Regions from separate parts of the Homo sapiens genome. Here all the other regions are linked to region 1. The links are contacts of gene promoters, found by promoter capture Hi-C in blood cells and fetal thymus (Javierre and others, 2016). All regions are on one chromosome and are shown on one strand. Each heading gives the region's core, a stretch centred on a gene start or on the middle of the fragment in contact. The rest is flanking DNA. Distances are from core to core; before and after follow the strand shown.

The links. The method cuts DNA at HindIII sites, captures the fragments that hold promoters and counts their contacts. A CHiCAGO score of 5 or more calls a contact.
Region 2: a contact is called between a fragment that was not itself captured here and the fragment with the promoter of LINC01555 in region 1, in 3 of 17 cell types (erythroblasts, M0 macrophages and M2 macrophages). The highest score is 7.8, in erythroblasts.
Region 3: a contact is called between the fragment with the promoter of LPAR3 here and the fragment with the promoter of LINC01555 in region 1, in 9 of 17 cell types (activated CD4 T cells, naive CD8 T cells, total CD8 T cells and 6 more). The highest score is 7.7, in activated CD4 T cells.

What each region holds. Positions count from the first base shown.
Region 1 is chr1:84,632,390-84,636,896 of GRCh38, forward strand. It overlaps LINC01555 (long intergenic non-protein coding RNA 1555), which reads right to left and starts at 2,631. Exons shown (of 3, transcript NR_027379.1): 1 at 2,543-2,631. It overlaps LOC124904206 (a long non-coding RNA gene), which reads left to right. Exons shown (of 5, transcript XR_007066196.1): 4 at 2,885-3,059. The HindIII fragment of the contact is 1,375 bases long and covers 2,163-3,537 here.
Region 2 is chr1:84,126,425-84,130,931 of GRCh38, forward strand. It overlaps a transcript of PRKACB not described here. Among named protein-coding and RNA genes, the nearest start is that of PRKACB, 16 kb to the right of the region's middle. The HindIII fragment of the contact is 3,373 bases long and covers 877-4,249 here.
Region 3 is chr1:84,890,585-84,895,091 of GRCh38, forward strand. It overlaps LPAR3 (lysophosphatidic acid receptor 3), which reads right to left and starts at 2,622. Exons shown (of 3, transcript NM_012152.3): 1 at 2,432-2,622. The HindIII fragment of the contact is 2,976 bases long and covers 828-3,803 here.

The sequences.
Region 1 (4,507 bases), core at 1,381-3,880:
CTCCAGGGAGCACTACAGGACTTCCCCACAGGCCCACATTCACCCAACATGGCCTTGAGCTGCCGAGGGACACCACCAATGATGGCAGTACAGACTCATCATTAGGAGTTTGCCAGGGGCCAGTTTTAGTTCTTCTCTTCCTAGGATAATTCACCCATTATCTAGAACTAACCTGATTAAAATAATGCTAGTGCCTCTGTCCATTTTCTTGATATTAATAATGGTAGGGATGAATAAACCTTCATGTCAATTAAATGTAGAAAACAGAAATGAATTCTTCCTGAGGTCCAGCTTAGTCATGTGTATGACAGTAAAAGATTTGCCTTCTAATAAGGGCAATATATTGAGTCCTACAATGTATCTCAACTCTGAAACTAATTTTCAATTAGGATATACTTCCCAATTTCCTGAAAAGCATGCATATGTCAGAAAGGTTCCCAGTATAAAAGTGTATTTTCCCAGATGGCTCATGATGGACCACATGCTCAGCTTGGAGAGAAAGAGGAAATTTACAAAAGCATAAAACGTGGTTCTGTTTTTCTCAGGGACCTTAGTTAAGGCAGAAAAATAAACTCATACAGCAACTGCAAATGAAAGAACTTCGTACCCACACACCCAAACACCAGGATTGGTGCATTAGTCTCCTAAGAGCCCTTCTTGCCCCCAGATCTGTTTCCCTTAGGTCATTCTCAGAACTGCCAAGTGAATTATTATTTAAAGTGTGAGTCATCTTTTTACTCCTCTGTATTACATCCTTCAGTGTTTCCAGGAAATGCCTTCAGGATAATGCCCAAGCTCCCCTTGAGGGATCAGATTCCAGACTATCTTGCTGGTCTGGTGTCTGGTCCCCTGCTTTGCCTTTTATGCTACCCAAAACCCCACTGTGAGTGGTGCCCTGGACATATCCCTCCTGGTTCACTCCTACTTATCCTTTAAGATACAGCTCAGGACACAAAACCATCCTCCCACTCTCATGAGGTACTGAGGAGTTCCCCTCTGCTGCACTCTCTCCAGGGAGATATCCACTCAAGATACAATCAATTACCTGGGTGTCTCCTTTTATACTGAGTTCATGAGGGCTCGGGACACAGCAGGTACTCAATAAATATTGGTTAAATTAACTTAGGAAATGCAGAGGAACCCTCCTTAAAGTTACTAATGACCACAATACTGCCAGCGTTTTTCTATATATTGTTTTCTTTATAACATTTGAACTTCCTTGGAATTCTCTCCTTCCTAAGGGTGGCTTTTTTTTTTTTTTTTTTGAGACAGGGTCTTGCTCTGTCACCCAGGCTGGAGTGCAGCGGTGCTATCACCACTGCACTGCAGCGTCAACCTGACCTCCTGGGCTCAAGTGATCCCCGCTTCAGCCTTCTGAGTAACTGGGACTACAAGCACACCACCATGCCTAGTTAATTTTTGTATTTTTTATAGAGGGAGGGTTTCACTATGTTGCCCAGGCTTGTCTCAAACTCCTGGGCTCAAGCAATCCACCTGCCTCCGCCTCCCAAAGTGCTGGGATTACAGACAAGAACCACCATGCCTGGCCTTGATATCTTCTTGATATTGACTCTCAACTCTCTGTCTCTTCACTCCATAAAAGAGCCTTTTCTTCCATATTTGCCTTTTCTTTTTTCTTTTTCTTTTCTCTTTTTTCTTTCTGAAGTAGAGACAGGGTCTCACTCTGTTGGCCAGGCTGGAGTGCAGTGGTGTGATCATAGCTCACTGCTGCCTTGAACTCCTGGGCTCAAGCAAACTTTCTGCCTCAGTTTCCCAAGTAGCTGGGACTATATGCATGTGCCACCATACCTGCACATTTGATTTTTGAATGCCAGTGATACCCAAGTCTCTACCTTCTGCTTCTCATTCTACCATCTGTCTCTTTTTTGTGACCTCATGTATGCCCCTAGCTTCAACAGCCACTTATGTATTGGCTCTCAGATCTCAATATCTATCCCAGACCTCTCTGTTGAGCTCCAAACTTATATATCCAATTGCCAACAGTAGGCATTCACATGGGTAGGCACTGCATACCTACCTGAGGAACCCTAATAAAAACCCAAGTTCATCCACACGAACTTGAATGGCTCAGAGACCCTTAAATTCAATATGTCCAGAACAATTCATTATCCCTGTGTCAGGGGTCCCTAAGATCACCCTTAAGCTTGATGAACTCACATGAACTAGAAAGACTCACAGGACTCAGAAAAGCTGTTATACTTATGGTCATGATTTATTACCGCAAAAGGTTACAGATTAAAATCAGCAAAGGGGCAGGCACCTGAGCAAAGTCTTGGAAAAAGCAAGCACAAACTTCCAGGTATCCTCTCCCAGTGGAGTCACAGCAATATGTGACAATACATGTGAAGTGTTGCCACAGAAGTTCACCCAAGACTTGGTGCTCAGGATTTTTATTGTTTTTATTGGGGGTCATCAGGTAGGTATGCAGTGCCTACCCAGGTGACTGATCTCAGCTACTCAGACTCCAGCCCACAGGCAAAAAAGGCATTCACCATAAATCACATTGTTAGGATAAACTTACCTAGTCACACCGGTACAGCATGGCCCGAGGCCTCAGGCATGCAAAATCACTCTTAGCAGGCAGAATGTGTAAGACTCAGAGGTCATTTTCCAGTCCTGAAGACAGACCTTTGCTGGGTTAACACACAGGCAACCCAGGTCTGCTGACTAGACTATTTCCTGCTCAATCCCCTAAAGCTGTTCTTCTGTAAGCCCTTTCATCCACCGCTATCTGAGCCAGAGATTGTTTTACTTAACACCGACATCCAATCAGAGTCTACCTGTAGGAACATGCATTCCTCTCAATCACTTCTTGCTTGGATTACTGCAACCTGGTATCATCTCCACTTTGCTTTCTTTTCAGCAGTTCTCCATATGGAATTAGAATTGTGATAAATGCTATGACAGAAGGATATGCAGTTAAAGCATTTGTAATAAATGCTTTAATAGAGGTATACTCACAATGCTATGACAAGGAGAGAGAGGGAACACTCTGGGTCACAGTTGTGCTTGACCAAGCACATCACTAAGCCTTCAGGGTAAGTTCAAAACTTCTTGAATCTGAGACCCTTTTAACCTGGCTCCTCTCTACCCCTCCCACTGTTCTCCCACACCACTTTGTTCTTACAAAGCTATTTGTAATTTCCCTGGAGGTCATTTGGTTTCATACCTCTGATCTTGTATGTTCTGTTCCCTCTTCAATACTTAACTCAAGCATCCTCTCTGACCTCCTATTCCGCAGGCTAAACATGCTTCTCCCCCTCTTCCCTGCCTCAGAGCCCTCCAAAACCTTTATTGGAGCACTTACTCAGGTGCCTTAAGTGGCCCATTGGCTTGTTTGCCGCAGTAGTTTGTTAGTTTCTGAGGGCAATGGCCAAGTCACCTTCCATGTTAGAATCCCAGCACCTAGCATAGCAATCCTAATAAGTACTCAATAAACATTTGCTGAATGAATAAAAGGGAGAAAGTTCAATTCTGAGAGCAGAGTTGTGACTGCCTCCCCACAGAGTCAGAAAAAGCTTTATAGATGTAAGAACCATTTAAGTTGATATTGAAGGAAAATAAAATTTCATCAATTTTTTATTTGCACATAACCAAAATTGTATTGAAAAACACCAAAATAGGAGATCACTGCTGCATACCTTACAAAATCAAACACACTTACTTATCTTGGTAGATGAACCAGAATTACTGAACTTATGATAAGCCTTTCTGGGACATAACAAATTCAGGATGTTGTGTGGATCATTAGTGTTGCTTTCTTTTAAATGAACACTCTTCTGTGAGCTTGGTGTTTCATCCTGTAGGCTGGCACAACACTGTTGAAGAACCTACACAAAGATCCACTGTCTGAGTGTAACTGCCAAATGGGTTCATTTTGCCCACTGCCTATATAGAACCAATTTATCAAGACAGAGGCACTGCAACACAGAAAGAGTTTAATTCACACAGAGGCAGCTGAACAGGATACTGGAGTCTTATTTTTACTCAAATCAGCATCCCTGAAAATTTGGAGGCTAGGGTTTTTCAAGGATGGTTTGGCAGGCAAGGGAATGGGTGCTGCTGATTGGTTGGGGGTGCAATCAGAGGGGTGTGCAGAATTTGCTTCTTGGTGGGGCCACAGGACTGGTTGGCAGGTCCAAGTGGAGCCATGGTAGTCAGAAATACAAAAGCCTGAAAAGACATCTCAGAAGACCAATCTTAGGTTCTACAATAGTGATGTTATCTGCAGGAGTAATTGGGGGAAGTTGCAAATCTTGTGACCTCCAGAATAATGGCTTGTAATTGTTTAGGTCTACCCCTTAGCAGAGTTCGTGCTCCTCTCATCCACCTAGCCTGGTGGTCTTTCATTTGCTTTACAAAGGTGGTTTAGTTTTGGGGAAGGGCTGTTATCATTTAAACTATAAATTTCTCCCAAAGTTAGCTTGGCCCAAGCCCAGGAATGACTAAGGCAGTCCGGAGGTTCAAGGCAAGATGGGAGTTGGTT
Region 2 (4,507 bases), core at 1,313-3,812, 510 kb before region 1:
CCTGCTGTCAAGCTGTTCCTCTGAAGTCAAGCTGCTTCTCTTTGATGTCCTTCTGCTGCCTCTCTTCTCTCCTCTGCCACTCTGCCACTCTGCTGGTGGGGCTTGGGGTTTTTATGGGTACAGGATGGGGAGGTGGGGACAGCCAACATGGTTTTGGAAAAGGCAAATTTGGGCAGGAAAACAGGAATGCATGTTCTCACTTTGGACTGCAGGTCCAGGCTTGAGAGTGTGGCCCTCGTTGGGGTCTGCCCTCTTCTACCCAGTATTTCCCCGCCTCCTGTCTATATCACTTCCTCACCCTTCCCCAGCTTAATAATAACTGGCATCACTACTTATTCACATGCTCAAGCCAAAAAAAGTAGGAATTATCTTTTATTACTTTTATTAATTTTCTGGGTTCAATGAATCATCAAATCTCCTTGTTTTTCAAAAATATATATGAAATCTGTCTGTTTTTCTTTCCCACCACAACCTCAGTTCAGGTATCCATCATCTCTTGCCTGGACTTTTGCAGTAGTCCTTAACTATTTTTCATGTTTCCATTCTTACCTTCCACCTACACAGAAGATTCCTGAATCCATTCTCTTCCTAGTAGTCATACTCTTTTTGCCTTATTCCTCTATCTGGGTCTTTAATTCCCAGCTTCATCTGCATGGCATACTCTTCTTCCATCTTTCTGTAAGTTCCTCTTTTCTTTGTACTTCAGGTCTTGACAGCTGTGTATGTTACCTGAAACACATTATAGAAAATGTACATTTGTACATGAGATGAAGATAAATAGGGAGGAAGACCAAAGAGTAGAATTATCTGCTAAGTTGAACAATTACAAAATAGTAATCTATCAAATAAAATCTTAAAATAGCTGTATGTAATTTAAGCTTATCATTAATAAGCATCCTAATTTTCCCCTGCTCCTTAAAATTACCTATACGACATTGAGCTAAAGCATTTCTTTGTTGGAAAGAAAAAAAATTGAAAACAAAAATGCTTGTGTATTCAGCTCTGCAGGAGGGATATTCAACTGTATCAGTATTAAAAATCTATCTTTCCAGAAAAGAAGTATGAAGTTAATTTACCTGCTGGTATTACTAATAGTTTAATTAGGTAAACAGCATGAGTTCAAAACAATTAATCATCTGCCATAAAAGTCTAATTATTCCTGGCACATTACTGAGCTATTTTTACTGTGTGAGATAAATATGAATTTTGCGGGTTTTTTTTCTTTTTCTTATATTTGATAGCTATAGACAATAAATTTAGTTCTTATTTTCTGTTGGACTCTGACTTTTGAAATGTTATTTTGCTAACACATTCAATTGACTATATTTACTGTTTTCCTAACTTGATTACTACTTTATTTTACTTCTAGTGAATATATTTTATGTTTTGAAGAAAATATAATATTTCCTATACTTAAATCATAAAATTATTTTAAGGATAAATATGTACTTAGTGGGAATTTTTTGTTTAAAGTAAGCCAATTTGCCAAATTTTACATTGTGTAAAAAATAAAGAGGCTTTGCTCAGGATTCCTCAGATTCCAGTCTATTCTTTGTTAGAATTATTTCTTTTCTTTTTTTTTCTTTTTTTTTTTTTTTTTTGAGACAGAGTTTCACTCTTGTCACCCAGGCTGGAGTGCAATGGTGTGATCTCGGCTCACTGCAACCTTCACCTCCCAGGTCCAAGCAATTCTCCTGCCTCAGCTTCCTGAGTAGCTGGAATTACAGGCGCCCACCACCACGCCCAGCTAATTTTTGTCTTTTTAGTGGAGACTGGGTTCCACCATGTTGGTTAGAATTATTTCTTTAATGTATGTACCTTAGCTGCAAAAAAGCAAAATTAAAAAAAAAAGATGTTTTAGCATACAAGATTTTTAGACAGTATAGGACACATAGAACTGACAGCTTTCATGTTGAAGAACAATATTGTCTTGATTTCACTGGAATTGTTCATTTGGGTCTATAGCATTCTGTCCAAATTGCAGAAATTGATTGTTATGGCATACCCACGATTTTCATGCTCATATGTTATAACAGAATAGTTTTTAAAAATCTTGTTTGAACAGTTTGGTTGTTTGCATGCTTCCAGTGTTTAGACTTTTAAAAAACGATTTGAAAAAATATGATATTGAAGTGTACTTTGATTTTCTTTAATTTAAATAAATAATAGTCATATATTTATTAATCAGATGTATTAATGTAATACAGTTTACAAAGAAATTTTATGTATATTCTCTTAGTTGAGCCATACACAAAACTAGTGATATAGTCAGGGAAGTTATTAATGATCTCGTTCAGCAGAAGAGGAAACCAAAGATTATAGAGGTAACTGATTAGTTTAAAAAGTGGCATATCTGTCAGCATTATGTGTGTTCCTATTGCCCAGTTTTGCCCATGTAATTTTCTGTGATTATGGAAATGTTTGATGTTGGCACTGTCTACACATGTAGCCATTTAGCTACATGTGGCTGTTGAGCACTTGAAATCATGGCTCATGTGACTGAGGAACTAAATTTTTAATTTTATTTAATTTTAATTTACGTAACCATGTGTCACTAGTGACTATAATATTGGACAGTGTACCCTAGACTCAAACATATGAATAAAAGCAATTTGAATTCCTGGAAGAAAAATTAGAGAATACTTACCTTTCAATGTACAGCATATGTTTTGAGCAATTGAATATTCTTACATTAGAATTGTGAGATTAAATAAATTTCCATATCTCTTTTTATGTTGAATAGTAAGATCATTGTTTTTGCATATTGTATTAACTTACTGCTTAATATTCAGCACAATTATAAACTTTTTTAGTTTACTATACTTTGAGATATATATTACTATTATAATTTTAGGTATTCTGGTGAGTTCAAGGATAAAAAACATGGAGTGTAATTGTGAAAATTTGTTTATGTATTTGAAAATATATCAGTTTGCCAAGAGTGAATCAATTTCATATTAATAATGACACCATACTTGATAGTAGTAATCATGAAATTTTGTATAAAAATTACATTTTTTAAAGAAATGTATGCATGTAACTTTTTGTCTCATAAAGTACTGTGACAAAAGTACTACAACTTTACTGTGGATTTACTCAGAAAAATGTATGTCAATTTCACACTGAGATTAAGGTGAAGCATGTTGAAAGTAAAACTTTTATCTTTTACATTTTTTATTTCTAAATCTATTATTAAATTATTAAAATCAGAAGTGATGAGATTAGCTTCTAGTTCCAATTAAGATGGAGTAAGTAAATGCACATCACTCTATTCCTCCCACTGATTATGCCTAAAAAAGATTCTGAACAGAATACATAAAGTAGCTGTAGAAAGACTTTGAAAAGTAAATATAGCAGGAAGATTGGAAAGGGAAATCAAAACTTGAAAAGAGACAAATACAGTAGTGAATTTCCTGCTTTTAGCAATTTCTTCCTACATCCTCCAGCTTAGACTCAAGGCAGTCAGAATTCCAGAACTGTACAGTGGATTCAGACAGAAAATGCTGTGGCTCACGCCTGTAATCCCAGCACTTTGGGAGGCCCAGGCAGGCAGATCACGAGGTCAGGAGATGGAGACCATCCTGGCTAACAGGGTGAAACCCCATCTCTACTAAAAATACAAACAATTAGCTGGGTGTGGTGGCGGGCACCTGTAGTCCCAGCTGCTGGGGAGGCTGATGGCATGAACCTGGGAGGCGGAGCTTGCAGTGAGCCAAGATCGTGCCATTGCACTCCAGCCTAGGCAACAGAGCGAGACTCCGTCTCAAAAAAAAAAAAAAAAAAAAAAAAAGAGAAACTCTCTTTCTCTAATGAGAGACCCTGTAAGGAAATCCCTGGTGACAAGGAAAAAAATCAATGAAATTCCATTTGTTTGTTTGTTTTCTGGTCCTGCTTTGAGACAAGATATACTCCTAAAACTGCACTCCTGTGTCAGTGGCAGTAGCAACAATGACCAAACAAGTACCTCAAATTATGAGAAAGAATGGAGACAACCCAGAAAAGAGTCAGTGAATTAGAACAGAAGATCAGGAGAAATTGTCTATTGTAAACAACAGGAAAACATTTGTTTAATAAAGGGAAAAGAGCCTTAAGAATCTGTAAAACAATATAAAAATGTCTAACCCTACAGGTCTTTGAAATCACAGTAGAAGAGGAAAGAGATTGCTGCAGAAATTTCTAAAAAAATTGAATATGTAATGGCTGAAAACTTCTCAAATTTCGCAACTGACATAAATTTACAGATTGAAGAAGCTTAGTGAATGCCAAGAAAACAACATCCAAAGATATAACCAAATTACTGGAAACCAAAGAGATAATTCATCAACAGCAATGCTGCTTTAAAAGAAATGCTAAGGAAAGTTATTTAAACAGAAAATAAGTGATACCAGAGAGAAACTTGGAACTTCATGAAGGAAAGGAAAGCAACAAAAATAATAAATATCTGGATAAATATAATAAATTGTTTTTTCTCCTCTTAAGTTCATTAAGATATGTATAATGGTAGAAA
Region 3 (4,507 bases), core at 1,372-3,871, 260 kb after region 1:
TTGGTCTTCCATTTATACTGCATTAATAATGCCTTGGGCCTGGTCTCTGCCATCTAGAATCCTGCAAACAGACTTAACCACTCTGTTGGGTATAATCACAGGCCAGAAAGCATTTGAACTAATGTATACTCCAAGGAGAATGGCTAATGGGTAATCTGAGGTACAGTAATTCCCATTTCAGTTATAGTGATTCCCCTTGCCCCAGCCCAAAGAAATAAGAGGCGGGTCTTAAGTTATCACGCACTGCTGCTCCTCAGCAGCAGGCTGAGAAACTTGGGGGAGAAGCAGCCAGCCTTAGGCATGTGTGTATAAGTGATGTTGAGAGTGTGTGTCTGGGTGCTGCCTGGCTACAATGCTGTGTGTGCATTTCTTCCACTGTGCACGTGTGTTTCTGAAAAATGAGATGGAGAGTTAACATGCTGTAGTTTCTTAAACAGATTCCGGTGAACACACATGAAAAACAATCTCATACTTTAATGTTTTAAATTCAGTCTCCATTCATAGAAAACATATGCAGGCCTGTTCTAACAAATATCTTGCAGAACAGCAAGATATCTAAAATAGGTCTGATCTGATAAAAAAAAAAAGAGTGGTAGTTGATAAATGCAATTGAAAGGTTTAGACAAGAGGAGTGTCATATGTAATTAAATCAAAACCTCAAAGTTTCAAATTCTAAAGACAAAGAAAAAATTTTTGCCAAAATGACCTATTTTCTTAGTTATATGATAGTGACAATCAATGTAAGTGTTGTCCAAATAGTTAGACGTCCAGATCTCCACAGGATAACTAGTTCCTTGCTGTCTCAAGGCACAAGAGACAACTCTGGAAGCTTATCTCAAGTACACAACTCTGACTGGCAGGGTTTGCTCGCTCGTCTTTTTAGTATAGTCCAGTTTGTTTAGACAAGCCTGGGGTTAACAGAGCCAAGGTGTGTGTTTCTAACCGTATCACTTCTGTCCCAAAAAGAGGAAAACTCTGTTTACTGGACTCAGGCCACTAAATATCAGATCCACTGCCCATGGAAAGCAGGGTTAGCAACTGTTGATGGATCAATGGAAAATCCAGCAACTCTTCTCAGCGATACAAAAGTCCATGCATTAATGAAACGTTGTGCGGTACATGGAATTTGTAAAGAGGAGATTGATTGTCTGTCTGTAATTGACATTTACTTTATTCTCTGATACAGACTAAGTTGGAACCGTGAGAAAGCCCTTTATTTCTAAACGGCATCTCAAGACCAGGTAATGCTACTTTCGGAGGAAAAGGAGGAAGAAAAGCGTTGTAATGACAATAACAAATTACGGGGGAAACATTTCGTGGAAATTACTCAGTTTAAAAAACTGACCTAGCCGGGCGCAGTGGCTCACACCTGTAATCCCAGCACTTTGGGATGCTGAGGAGGGTGGATCACGAGGTCAAGCGTTCGAGATCAGCCTGGCCAACACAGTGGAACCCCGTCTCTACTAAAAATACAAAAAATTAGCCTAGCGTGGTGGTGGGCGCCTGCAATCCCAGCTACTAGGGAGGCTGAGGCAGGAGAATCGCTCGAACCTGGGAGGCGGAGGTTGCAGTGAGCCGAGATCGCGCCACTGCACTCCAGCCCGGATGATAGTGCGAGACTGTGTCTCAAAAATAAATAAATAAATAAATAAATAAATAAATAAATAAATAAATAAAAACTAACCTACAAATGCTTTTCAGGGCCATTTTAATGATTACCTTAATAAGACTAAATTGTTTCCAATATTCACAGTCACTCCTCAAATTACATGCGTGCGGAATTTCTAAGCAATTTTGTGTAGCTGCAACTTGTTGAGGGAAAGCAATAAAGTAACTCTGCTACAGAACAAAAGCACTTTTGTCTCGTGGTGGTGAGGGGGCATACCCTGAACAAACAACCCCGACAGTGTTGCTAGTTACTAGTTCCCGAATCTCTAGAAGCCTGCACATGGTTCAAGCTGTTCCCCAGCGGACACAGCACAGTACCAGATGTAACTGGAGGCTGAAAAATGTTATATCCCTAGGCTTCACGAGAGAACCCCAGTTTCCTAATCACCATCGATGGCAATGAGACTGAGTTTGGAAAGAACCACGTGTGCAAAGGCAGACGCAACCCGTGCGGCGCTCTCCTGGCCTCTGCGCCCAGCCCGCCAGCCCTCAGCAGCGGACGCAACGCCGATTTTGCATCTAGATTGCTTTTTGCTCCTAGCGGGGAAAAAGGTGGGAAAAGAGCAAGTTGTGCCATACACCCGCCGGGAGAGTCTTGTCCCGGGGTTTGGAGTGGGTCTGGAGCCCAGGCTTGCACGCCAGGCAACCCCGAAAAGCCGCAGGCTAGAGCCCTGCAGGCGCCGCTGCGCCCCGGCCTCCCCACGACGCACGCCCTGGTGACTGCGGCTCGGGGTACCCTCCCTGCGCCCGGACCCTCACTCACCGCTCACGTTCACCCGCGCCGCCGAGCCCGGGAGCGGGGGCCCCTGCGGCTGCCGCATGCCCTCGGGGTCGAGCGCGACGGGGCGACCGGGCGCCGGGCTCCAGCCGGGCGCGGAGAAGCAGCGGAGGACGCGGCGGGCGGGCGGAGCGCCTCCTCTCCAGCGACCCCTGCGACGCGTCCAGAGCCAAAGGAAAGTTTGGCGGTGCGAGGGAGGGACCTAGGGACAGCGGCCCCTCCCTGCCCCGCCCCGCCCCGCCGGGTGCGTTCGACGTTCCCACTGGAGAGCGTCCCCAACCTGCAAGGCCGCGAGCTGCGCTCAAAGGGGCCCGTGCGAGCCGCGGGAGGGCAGCGCTCTTGCAGACGCGTTCCTGCCTGGGATCGTCCCCAGGTGGGTGGTCGGCCGGCCCCGAGAGGGAAAAGCGCCCACTAAAGGACCGCTAGTACCCACAAGCCTCACGGAGCCATACCTCGGAGCTCCGTATTAGAACGCAGTCCCTCTGCCCCTCTGTCCTCAGAGATTTGTTTGAAGTGGCTGCGGGAAGTGCAGCCCACACCCACCACCCCCGTGGGAGGCAGGCTCTACTCCAAGCCCGACCTAACGCTGGAAACCTCAACCCCAAAGCTACCCGAGGGTGCGGACAGCCCCCAGAGGCAACCAACAATATTTAAGGTTCTTGTAAGAGGTTTCTTGGCCTCCTGGGGCAAATAGTCCTGGATACTTTGTTTTTCAAAGCTGAAATATAAAACCTCCACTGACCCACCTTTAGTAAAGAAGAAAGATGCAAAGTAAAACAAATGTCATGAAGGCATTGTTCTCTCTGAATTCTGCAAAGCAATAACGAAGTCACAGAAATGTTCAAAGTTGTGCTTTCCTGGTGACCTTACAAAAAGGAAATACTGTGAGGTGAAGTCCTTCCCACTCAGACTTCAGGCCCTTAGGAAGCAATGAGAGTTGTGTGCCCAGATGTCTTCCTGTGACCCTTTGCCATCCATCCATCCGTTCATTCATTCATCTTGCATTCACCATTAATACTGCGCCCTTCTGTGTGCCAGCTAGGAACCTCATCCTTGCAAACAACCTGTTAGATAATCTGTCCCCTACCATCAAAGAGATTCTGTTTTCTCTGCAGAGGATGTTTTAATAAGGTTACGTCCCTTACTCCGTGGGTCTTATCCTATAGACCATAATAGCCTAATGTGCCTCAAACCTCCCCGGGGCTACAGCTAAGTTTTCATCAGCATGTGAAAATTATTGTTTCATCTAAGTGTTCAGAAAATTATTGCGGTGTCTTGCAGTTGAACTGTGTAGAGAGAAGTACAACTTGCGAAGCTAGGGCTAAAGAAAGATCATGTGTTTACTTTTACAAGCAGAAGCTTTGCATATGATAAAAAAGCTCGGTGGCAAACATGGTGAAAACCCGTCTCTACTAAAAATACAAAAAGCCGGGCGTGGTGGCACGCACCTGTAATCCCAGCTACTCTGGAGGCTGAGGCAGGAGAATCGTTTGAACCTGGGAGGCGGAGGTTGCAGTGAGCCGAGATCGCGCCACTGCACTCCAGCCTGGGCGACAGAGCAAGACTCCGTCTCGGAGGGGCGGGGGTCGGAAAGAGCTCTCTCTGTCAAGGGAGAGAACAGCTCAGCTCAAACATCACGGTGCTGAAGGGCAACCTGGTAAACACAGAAATACTCAACCACCAGCATTTACTGAATACTTGACGCAACAAAGGTGTAGTATGTTGAGTAAGATGTTGCAGGCTAGACTGTAAACACCACTAAGAGCCTTCTTTTGCTGGGAAAATCTGTTCTGAATCCAAACAACTTACTAACAAAGGCACTTGGGAAACACATTATGTTGCATTATGTTGTACCTTGGGAACTTCCTGAACTCGAGGTAATTGCAAAGCAGAACAGGGATCCCACAGAGTTGAATCTGAATCCTTAAAAAAGGAGGAAAGTGAAGAGGGCATGGGGAGCTGTGTTGCAAAAGGAAAGAGACTTTCCAGATAGATGGTTTTTAACAGCTAGATGGGTCAGATGTGAGGGGAAGGCCAGAAGGTGTTACAGAGAAACAGATT